Linked DNA regions of Homo sapiens: all the other regions are linked to region 2. Evidence: promoter capture Hi-C in 16 types of primary human blood cells and fetal thymus (Javierre and others, 2016). All regions are on one chromosome and are shown on one strand. The core of a region is centred on a gene start or on the middle of the fragment in contact, and the rest is flanking DNA. Distances in the headings are between cores, read along the strand shown. Region 1 overlaps LBR (lamin B receptor). Region 2 holds the start of SDE2 (spliceosome associated SDE2). Region 3 overlaps DNAH14 (dynein axonemal heavy chain 14).

Region 1 (3,677 bases), core at 1,170-3,669, 590 kb after region 2:
CCAGTGTAGCTTTGTTTGCTGTTATAGAATGAATCGCCAAAAGAGCATATAGGTTACAGTTTGCAAATCAAATGATATTTCACAGTTGTGCTCACCTCAGAGGCTTCTTTAAACCTTCCTTTCTAGTAGCTTTCCACTGATCAGTGATTATTTCTTCTGGTTTCTTCTATTACTAGCTTTCTGCCATGTTGTGGTTGTCACTTTTTAATTGGCTTAGAAGTTGATATTTTCTATAGATTTAGCCAAACATTGACTTGTGTTAAAAGAAAATTTTTTGCATCTTAAGGCAAAACGCTTAATGCAATATTAACATAGCCCCAGGGGTAGAGAACTAGAGTTAGGAAATTGTTTTCTGTCTGTTCTCAGTATCTCAGCCAGATGATAATAAGCTTCTTGAGGAAAGATTGTATTTTATGATTTCTTCAGCATTCTGGCATGCCACTGGGCAATTAGCAGATGCTTAATAACTTCTGTCAGGTCACTTGATAGAAATCCCTCTGTATTCAAGAATGTGCTATACCTTAAGAAAACTGAGACTACCTGTTTAAATATGCATGACCCTTCCTCTGAGCCGTCCTGTGAAAGCCTTGGGGCTCAGGAGCTGGTGGGGCTAAGGTCCTCCCCCTACCCGGCATTGGGTGCTTACCCTTTGCCCTCTCACTGCCACTCACCACACCTGCTTTTATCTGCTCCCACCAATTTGTCACCTTTATCCTCTTTTGGACCAGGAATCAGATCACAGGCCTTGAGAGAGAAGAATAAGACACTCTTGGGGACAGAAAGTTAAAACACCGTGTGTCCTCACTTATATGTGGGCGCTAAAAAAGTTGATGTCATAGAAGTATAAAGTAGAACAGAGGATATGGGAAGGTGGGAAGGGTAGGGGGAAGGGAAGGATAGGGAGAGGTTTGTTAAAGGATACAAAATTACCACTCGATAGGAGGAGTAAGTTCTAAGTTCTAGTATTCTATACCACTGTAGGATGACTATAGTTAACAGTGATACATAGTTTCAAATAGCTAGAAGGATATTGAATATTCCTAACACAAAGAAAGAATGTGTTTGAGATGATGGATATGCTAATTACCTTGATTGGATTACTATATATTACATGTATTGCAACATCACTGTGTACCCCATAAATATGTACGATTATTACATGTCAATTTTTTTTTTTAAAGAGAATAAAGTACTCTGGTTAACTAAAGAGTATAAGCCTAAGGAGCTAGATTTTGTGAGATTGGTTTTTCTGTTTCATGTGACATCTGTTTTTCTGTTCCATGGCCTATTTGCTTTCTTTTCTGGAAAAAAATGCTATTTAGAGGTACCACTCTTTTTCTTTAACCTAGAACTTTGATTCTCCAACAGAGCTTATACTGGCTAATATTTCTACATCAGTGGTCTGTACTGAGGTTCTGGGTAGTTTAGAGATTCCCTTAGGCCAGACCTTCAGAGTGTTGACCTTGGTGGTGGTTCCGTATTCTAGAGTCTGGCCTGCCCGTATCCTGGGCCAGAGGCGATCTGGCTCATGCTAACCAAATCACCAGGGAGTAATGCACTTTTATTAATTTACATGAGAAGCGAAGCTGTCAGTTCACCATGTTGCCAGGCAGCTTAATTTCTTCTGTGGAAAATGCACATGAAATGCCAGATTATGAACAGAAATTAGATTGGTCCATGTGGAATTGAAACAAAAAGAGTTGGTGATCTTATTCCTTCAGCAAGCATATTTTGAACACTTCTCTCCATGGCGGGCACTGTGCTAGGTACTGGGGTGGCAAAGGTGAAAACACACAGCCTCTGTCTTTTAGAGGCTTTTAGTGTAGTGAAGAGTGACTAGACAAGTACAGTAACCCAATTACTGCAGCCTACTGGTGGGTGGTGATATCTGAGAAGTGCCCAGGTCTGAGCAGCAGGTCAGGAGGGCAGCAGAGGGTGTAGGGCCTATGTGGAGGTTGGAGGAGGGGTTGTCAGCAGAGGGGAGGGCCTGGGCATGGGGGCATGGGAGATGCTTTAGAGATCTGTTATCTCCAGAGCATGAGCGAGAGGCTGGCGTGACGGGAGAATGTGACAGCAGAAAGACCTAGCAGGCCAGGGGAACCAGATCTCTCTCCCCTTTAACAAAAAAATGTTGATTGTGGACCCGCCCATAGCACTTTTTACATTTGCCTGTAAACTAGTACTTTATTTGAATACTTTAAACACAGAAGCTCCTTCTCCCTTTCCCCGTCTGTATCCTTATAGGAAGCGTTGTTGACGACCATGGACATCATCCACGATGGATTTGGATTCATGCTGGCTTTTGGAGACTTGGTGTGGGTTCCCTTTATTTACAGCTTCCAAGCCTTTTATTTAGTCAGTCATCCAAATGAAGTGTCTTGGCCAATGGCTTCTCTAATTATTGTTCTGAAACGTGAGTATTAATTTTAGTCTCAGTTTAATTTATTAAATATTATGTACTGAGGCTTTTATGCCCTGCTGTCTACATACTTGAAACATGCCATTTTGAATGGCCAGCATTAGCTCAGTTTGAAGCCATTTATCATGAGTAATAAAAAATCTGCATTTTGCAAAGAGAATGGATGGTTCGTACTTGGGTTCTCAGTAGTACTTGAAACAGATTATTTTAAACCATCTTGCTTTTAAATTTAATAAATTTAAGTTGTTTTAATTCGTTTTGGTAACCATACGTCTTTTCTCTTGAGTGCCTGCTTTTTCTGGTAGGCATCTTATAAAGTAAGAAGATTTGTCTTGCCTTCATAGAGCTCACATTCTAACAGGAGAAATAAGACATTCCTGCCTTGCTGTGAGGTGTGTGAGTGAGCACTAAGAGGGGCTTAGATGACGGGTGTTAAAGATAGAGAGAACTTCTCTCTGGGGAGCGTTAGTGTGAACTTATCGGAGGATATGGTGTTCGATTGGAGTTTTAGAGGGGAAAATGGGATGGGGAGATCGAAAAGTCAGGCACTGGGAACAGCTCAGCAAGGGTGTGTGGTGGGGAAGTGTGAGATGAGGTTGGGAAAGACTGAGAAGTCCAGTTTGGCTGCAGCTGCGGTCCACCAGGGTCAGTCATGGATTTTACTTCAGGATGAATTTTCATTGTTCTTACACTGTTCACTAAACACTTATACTAGAGGTTGGGCAGGGAAAATTAGCAGTGAACTGCAAATACAGATAGTTTTGCTACACAAGTTAGTATCTGTGGTAGAAGAAGTTCAAACCATTGGTTAAAATTAAGATTTAGTTTCACCAGTGGTTTGGATGTCCATGTCATCCATTTTATTATTCAAGACAGTGTATTTTATAGTTCAGCTAAAAATGGGGAATGTCTTAGTTTGTTTTGTGCTGCTCGAACAGAATAGCTGAGACTAGGTAATTTGTCATGAAATTTATTTGGCTCATGGTTCTGGAGGCCAGGAAGTCAAAGAGCATGGTGCTGGAATCTGGCAAGACCCCTTCTGCTGCAGCATCCCAGGGTGGAAGGTGGAAGGACAAGAGAGAGTGAGGGAGGGCAAGAGAGAGTGAGGAAGAGCAAGAGGGGCTGAACATACTTTTATAACAAACCCACTCGAGATACTGAGCCCACTCCTGTGATAGCCACATTAATCTGTCCATGAGGGCAGAACCCTCATGACCTAATCATCTCTTAAAGGTGCTACCTCTCCACACTGTTGCAT
Region 2 (3,680 bases), core at 198-2,697:
CACTGCAACCTCTGCCTCCCGGGTTCAAGCGATTCTCCTGCCTCAGCCTCCTGAATAGCTGGGATTACAGACGCGCACCACCACGCCCGGCTAATTATTGTATTTTTAGTAGAGATGGGGTTTCACCATGTTGGTGAGGCTGGTTTCGAACTCCTGACCTCGAGATCCGCCCGCCTCAGTCTCCCAAAGTGCTGGATTACAGGCATGAGCCACCGCGCCCGGCCAGTACAATCTATCTTTATTATTTTTTTTTTTGTAATTTTTATTTATCTACTGGCATCCCCATGGAGGCCCTTTCTCTCCCCAACTTTCCCTCGTGTGTGAAATAAAGACCACTGAATCTATTAACTTCCCAGGCCTTGAAATTCCATTTTCGCACATACTGCCACCGCTAAACGATTTCTGAATTTTTTGTTGTTACCCCCTCAGCTAGGAGTTCCATTTGCCAAGCATTTTAACAGCAGAGAAGGCAATTCTGTGGGCCGATGCATTTGTGTTTAGCAGGCACAGATATCTCCAAATAACCTTCCTATCTTCACACTGGTGGCTTTTGAATTGTTCAGGGTTTTAGAAATACCATAATCTCATTCTGTTAAATATTAAGGGACTCTTTCGGATTCCCTGAGCCTTAAGGTTACGTTATGCAAATCTGTCCGAGTGTGTTTCCATGGTGCAGAATAAAAGTTATGGTAGGGTTTTTTGAAGCAGCATGACTATAAACGTCACTCCTGTCACTGCCTTTCACAAGAGCCCACTTGCTGTGAAATATTTTGAAAACAGAGCTGAAGTGGAGATAACGCAGTGCACAAACAGGCGGAAATAAGAATAAACCGTGCGTGGCAGGCAGAAACCCGGAGGTTGGCTGTTTCTGGAGGGGAAGAGAAGGCTCTGTAAAGCTGGAGGAGAAACCACGCCGGCCACTGTTTAGGGGCCTCCTGGGGGTCGTTTCCCTTGCCCCCTCGGGTTGGGGAGCTCCTCTAGGCCAAGGAAGCGGCCCCCTAAAACCGCTTCCGGGACTGCAGCTTCTCTCCCCACACTCTCAAGGAGCAGAGCCTTCTCGGGCCACAATTCTCCGCGACCCAAAAATAACTACACAGATGTGAGGAAAAGGGCCAAAGCCTACAGCACAAGGTGGTTCTCAGTTAAAGCCTTATCGCTTACGGCCAGGAAGCTCGAAACCTAACCCAGCGCCAGCCTTTTATAGCCGGTCCCTCGAGCCCCGCCCTAGCAACTTCTCCTAGCAACGCCTCGCCCCGTGCTCTGCCGCCTTATCTGCCTCCGCCAGGCCTTTCCTGTTCCCCTCCCCCAGCCCGCACCGCCCCGCCGCCCGGCTCACTTGACCCGCCCCAGGGGAGGGGAGGGGTGAACGGAAGCGTGAGGGGCGGGGCGTTGGAAGATGCTCGCGTCATCAAGAGGCGCCGGGCGAGTTGCGGCGCCTGGTGTCTCAGAGAGGCTTGAGGTTCGGGTAGTCGGTGACATGGCGGAGGCCGCGGCGCTGGTGTGGATTCGCGGCCCTGGCTTCGGGTGCAAGGCGGTGCGGTGTGCCTCGGGTCGGTGCACCGTCCGGGATTTTATCCACCGGCACTGCCAAGATCAGGTGAGGATTTCGGTTCCTGTTAGGAAGGAGAAAGAGGCAGACAGGTGGCAGCGCTGGGTGCGGAGTAGGTCTGTCCGGGGCGGGGGTACGTTTATTCTCTGGGGTTTTCACTCGTTGAGGCTGAGAGTTCCTCAGTGTTAAGGTGCTTCGAATTGTTACTGAGACCTTCCTTTGCTTTTCTTTTGTGGTGGTGGTTTTGCCTTCCCACCAAGAGGGAGAAAAAAACTGTTACAGGCACTTAGTCCCGCTCACAGTTACAAATACTTTGTTTCTCTTTCTTTATCCGTAAATATAATGGTCTTCTGGCAGTTGGGCCGGCTGATTTTTAAGGCTCCAGTCTTCACCTTCTTACTATGGTTATGTGACGTGTATTTTGTCCACTCATCACACAGCCTTGTTAGCCCCAGCCTAGAGAAGTATGTCATATCCAAACCCAGGCCAAAGGATGATTGGGAAGGAAAATTGATTCTTCTGGTCAGTCGTTGTGACCAAGCATTCACACGTGTGTCCTGTTGAGGGCCTGGGTTCTTAGGGCCTGTTACGTAGAAGTGTTCACTATTAATTTGATGGTCTCATTTGTCCGTGCATATTTGTGAAAACCTACCAGGGACTTCCAGAGTTACACGTGAGCTTTTACTGAACTTTCAAGTAAGTAAGCTTTTACCAGCTATAAGATATTAAACCTGTTCAGTTGTCAAAAGAATTTAGTGGTTTCCCTGAATCTAATTTTAATGTTGGCACTTGATCTAGAACTCTGTTCTTTCCGCACCTCATCCGTGCTTTCCTCGGCTATTTCCTCTGCTTACTATTTATAAGCTTAACAAATGTTAACACTGCAGTCTAGACCAAAATTTTAAGAGACTTGGATCGATTCCGTGAAGAAGCAATGTGTGTTTGCAAATAATACGGTTTTTCACTTTCCATGTTTTCCTTCCTGCTCTGTAATCCAGTCTAAAAACTGTAAGCACAACTGTTTTTGACCATGAAAATAATTGCATTCTAATTCCTTTGAAAATAATTCTTATTTCATGAGTACAGTGTTCTTTTCTCCCCCTCCCCCACCCCCGACGGAGTTTGACTCCCGTTGCCCGGGCTGGAGTGCAATGGCGTGATCTCGGCCCACTGCAACCTCCGCCTCGCTGAGTTCAAGCGGTTCTCCTGCCTCAGCCTCCCAAATAGCTGGGATTGCAGTCGCCCGCCACCATGCCTGGCTAATTTTTGTATTTTTAGTAGAGACGGGGTTTCACCACGTTGGCCAGGTCTTGAACTCCTGACCTCGGGTGATCCGCCCACCTCAGCCTCACAAAGTGCTGGGATTACAGGCTTGAGCCACTCCTCCCGGCCTATGAGTACAGTTTTCAAACTTGCTGACAATTGATCCAAAGTGAAACCAGAAAAAATAGGATCTTAATCATGAGGTATGTTGGAAAAAAGAATTTTTAAATCGGAAGCAAGAAATATAGGCCAGGCGTGGTGGCTCACGCCTGTAATTCCAACACTTAGGGAGGTCGAGGCGGGCAGATCACCTGAGGTCAGAAGTTCGAGACCAGCTTGGCAACATGGTGAAACCCCATCTCTCCTAAAAATACACAAAAATTAGCCAGGCGTGGCGGCAGACGCCTGTAATCCCAGCTACCCAGGAGGCTGAAGCAGAAGAATCATTTGAACCTGAGAGGTGGAGGTTGCAGTGAGCCGAGATTGAGCCATTGCACTCCAAACTGGGTGACAGAGCAAGACTCGGTCTGAAAAAGTATATATAAAGAAATATAAATGAGTGGATTCAGTCAGAAACTTAAGGAACATGACCATAGCAAATATGAATAGAAACACAAAAGAATATTAGTTGAGATACTGGAACAAGTAAGAATAGCTCAAGTTCACACCTATGTTTTTAAAAACAAAACTATTCTGAGACATGATGAAGTTAGTGTTAACTCCCACTGAGAAAATAAAAATCTGCCCTGCTTTTCATCAGGCTGGGATAACAGACACAGATAAAGCCAGCTGCAAAGTTTTTGTTTTTTGTTTTTGTTTCCCCCACACTACACCGATGTACAGCTGCAGAGTTAACAGGAAATGGTGA
Region 3 (3,516 bases), core at 161-2,660, 620 kb after region 2:
CAATATATGGTCTTTTGTGATGGCCTTCCTACACTTAGCACAGAAGAACTACTGTTTTCAAGGTTTATCCATGTGATAGCCTGTATCAGTACTTCATTCATTTTGCTGGCTGAATAATATTTCATTACAGGGACATACCATATTTTATCCATTCATCAGTCAATGGACATTTGAGTTGTTTTCACCTTTTGGGTATTACAAATAATGCTGCCATGAACATTCATGTGCAAGTTTTTGGGTGGACTTTTTTTTTTTTTGAGACAGAGTGTCCCTCTGTTGCCCAGGCTGGAGTGCAATGGCATGATCTCAGTTCACTGCAACCTCTGCCTTCTGGGTTCAAGCAATTCTCCTCCCTTAGCCTCACAAGTAGCTGGGATTTCAGGTACCCACCACCATGCCTGGCCATTTTATTATTATTATTATTTTTAGTAGAGACGGGGTTTCACCATGTTTGCCAGGCTGGTCTCAAACTCCTAACCTCAGGTGATCCGCCACCTTGGCCTCCAAAAGTGCTGAGATTACAAGCATGAGGCCCTGTGCCCGGCCTGGATTTATGCTTTAATTTCTGTTGGATATATTCCTAGGAGTGAAATTGCTGGGTCAAATGGTAAATCTGTTTAACTTTTTGAGGAACTACTGGACTATTTCCAAAGTAGCTGCACCATTTTTCATTCCCATGAGTGGTGCATTTGGGTTCCAATTTCTCCCAATGCTTGTTTTTATGTATTTTTAATTCTTTCCATCTTAGTAGGTGTGAAGTTGTATCTCATTGTGGTTTTGATTTGCATTTCCCTCAAAGCAAATGCTGTTGAACATCTTTTCACATGTCTACACAGGTTTTCAATCTGGTATAGGATTCAGGGTTCTGGAAAAGGCCAGTGCTAATCCTAAGGGGAGAAGTTCATTTCTGGAGAAATAGTGTTTGTGTCCAACATCAAGCTTGTTAATTTCCTACTCTGTGCTGCCAGATCTTCCATGGCTTATTTTATTCCTGGTCTAATACATTTTGTGTTTTTACAATTTGGTCTTCTGTTTAAGACCATGACCCAGTAATTTCTTCATCATCTTGTTTAGCTTTGTTTTTATTTTAAAAGCAATTAAACTCAACACTTATAGTAATACCAAGAGTGCACCTACTTTGACATGAACTGCCATGATACATAGTTCACATACACAGATAGTGAGAACTAAGTGATGGTGCTGCCTGGCTAACAGTGACTGTTAAGAGGCATTCCAACTTCAGAGATGTGAAAATATGAAAAAGTACGTCAGCATCTTTTAAGAGTTACATATTTCATCACACAGATGCACCATTTACCTTCACCATTCCCTTGAACTTGGACATTTATTTCAAGCAAGCAAGAAAATAGGAAATAATAATAATTGCTTACCTGCCACAATGTAGGCACTCTCATATTAAGAAAAGAGTTAAATATTTCCTCCAATTCTTGGGTGAGGATGATCTCTCCTTTTATAGCAAGCTGAAGATCTTTTAAGGATTTATGTATGACAAATAATAACTTATCAAATCGTTTAATTTCTTGCTTCAAAAAGGTTAGCAAGACACAATGGATAAGGGGGTCGTGATCTGGATTTTAAAAAGAAATAAAATTTTGATATTTTACAGATTAAAAAGAGGCTTTACATGGAGGGACTTAGGCTTTGAAAGTTAAGGGAATTTTGTGTGTCTTGACCAGGGGTTGATAAACATTTTCTGTAGAAGGTCAGATAGCAAACATTTTAGGGTATGGGGACCACACCACCTCTGTGAAAGCTACTCAGCTCTCCCCTTGTAGTGTGGGTGCGGCCACACTATCTACTATGTGTGGATGCATAGACAATATGTCATGAGTAAGTGTGGCTGTGTTCCAGTAAAGCTTTACTTATGGCACTCAAATTGGAGTTTCATATAACATTTATGTGTCACAAACTATATTCCTTCTTTTGATTTTTTTTAACCATTAAAAAATGCAAAAGCCATTTTAGTTCACAGGCTGTACAAAAACAAATGGTGGGCTGGATTTGGCCTGCGAGCCCTAATTTGCTGACCTTTGATTGAGACTCAACAATGACACTGTTTTGATAAACTATTGCTCAATATTTGGTTCCCAAATAAACTTCTGCAAAGGGATAAAATATGGGTATTAAAATTTAACTGGGAAAATTATCATAGTCTAGCAATTTAGCCACTTAGAGCTGGGTTTGGAGTCATCTCTGGGCAATCAGGCTTCCTCTGTCTTCCTGGGCCTGCCCTGATTCCCCTTAGCTTCTTGGAGTCAAGTGGTCTTTCAGCAGAAGGTCCATCTAAACTTCCGCTGTTCCAGAAGGCAGAGAGGCAGAGAGAACAGGCACCTAGAACTCTTGACAATCTCCAAAGCAGAGTTGCTGCTTTCTAGTTTGCTACACTTGTTATTTCTTCACTTTTGATTTCAGTGCCACACGCTACCCACCCCCAAACTAAAGCGTGATTTTCTTCTGTGCTCTCTGTCTTTCAACTTGGAGAGAGGAGGCAGAGACTGAGTTTTCCATCTTATCTCAGTATTTTCACTTCTACAGAATTTTTGTCTTATCTTTACCTTACTCCTGACACCAGAGTCCTTTCTTGAGGAGAGTGAGGTAAGGGGAAAAAGCTCCTGTCCCATGCTCACCTTTGAGATTTTTAGAAAGAGACTCCCAAATGGAGCTTGACATCATGCTCTTCAATGTGCTTGGAGTTCCAACAGCAATTTCTTCTTTCTCCACTGTCAGTGGCAGCCGCTTTAGCAAGTCGGATAGAATTTCCATCACCAGTTCATCCTTACTCTGCTCAGGTCTGCAAAAAAAACCAAGAGAAGAATGAGACACAGAACAGGAAGTGGGGAGATGGGGAGAGATTTGTTAAAGGATTCAAGATTACTGGTAGACAGGAGGAATATGTTTAGTGTTCTATACCACTGTAGGATGAGTATAGGTAACAAAAATAGATTATACATCTTCAAATAGCTAGAAGAGAGGATACTGAAAGTTCCCAACACAAAGGATAAATGTTTGAGATGATGGACATATGAATTGCCCTGATCTGATCACTATACATTGTATGTATTGAAACATTACTATGTACCTCAGAAATATGTACAATTATTATGTCAATTAAAAAAATAAAAATTGGCTGGGCACAGTGGCTCATGCCTGTAATCCCTGCAATTTGGGAGGCCGAGGCAGACAGATCACTTGAGGTCAGGAGTTTGAGACCAGCCTGGCCAACATGGTAAAACCCTGTCTCTACTAAAAATACAAAAGTTAGCCAGGCATGGTGGGCGCCTGTAGTCTGAGCTACTCAGGAGGCTGAGGCACGAGAATCACTTGAACCCGGGAGGCAGAGGTTGCAGTGAGCCAAGATTATGCCACTGCACTCCAGCCTGGGTGACAGAGCGAGACTCTATCTCAAAAAAAAAATTTAAAAAAAGAAAAGGAAAGGAAAATAAAATAAAAGAAATCAAGAGAAAAACAAGCTACAGATCTATCTAATGTTAGAGG

What was found. Contacts are between HindIII fragments. The CHiCAGO score rates a contact against its expected background, and 5 or more counts as called.
Region 1: a contact is called between a fragment that was not itself captured here and the fragment with the promoter of SDE2 in region 2, in 3 of 17 cell types (neutrophils, total CD4 T cells and naive CD4 T cells). The highest score is 11.5, in neutrophils.
Region 3: a contact is called between a fragment that was not itself captured here and the fragment with the promoter of SDE2 in region 2, in 1 of 17 cell types (neutrophils). The highest score is 5.9, in neutrophils.

What each region holds. Positions count from the first base shown.
Region 1 is chr1:225,405,400-225,409,076 of GRCh38, reverse strand. LBR (lamin B receptor) reads left to right here. Exons shown (of 14, transcript NM_002296.4): 11 at 2,245-2,413. Among named protein-coding and RNA genes, the nearest start is that of LBR, 21 kb to the left of the region's middle. The HindIII fragment of the contact is 4,055 bases long and covers 392-3,677 here.
Region 2 is chr1:225,997,110-226,000,789 of GRCh38, reverse strand. SDE2 (spliceosome associated SDE2) reads left to right here and starts at 1,447. Exons shown (of 7, transcript NM_152608.4): 1 at 1,447-1,597. The coding sequence starts at 1,478. RefSeq lists enhancers at 563-612, 693-792, 813-962, 1,483-1,592, 3,606-3,680 and a silencer at 1,143-1,422. The HindIII fragment of the contact is 16,010 bases long and covers 1-2,256 here.
Region 3 is chr1:225,379,455-225,382,970 of GRCh38, reverse strand. DNAH14 (dynein axonemal heavy chain 14) reads right to left here. Exons shown (of 86, transcript NM_001367479.1): 80 at 2,649-2,812; 81 at 1,392-1,588. Among named protein-coding and RNA genes, the nearest start is that of LBR, 47 kb to the left of the region's middle. The HindIII fragment of the contact is 938 bases long and covers 942-1,879 here.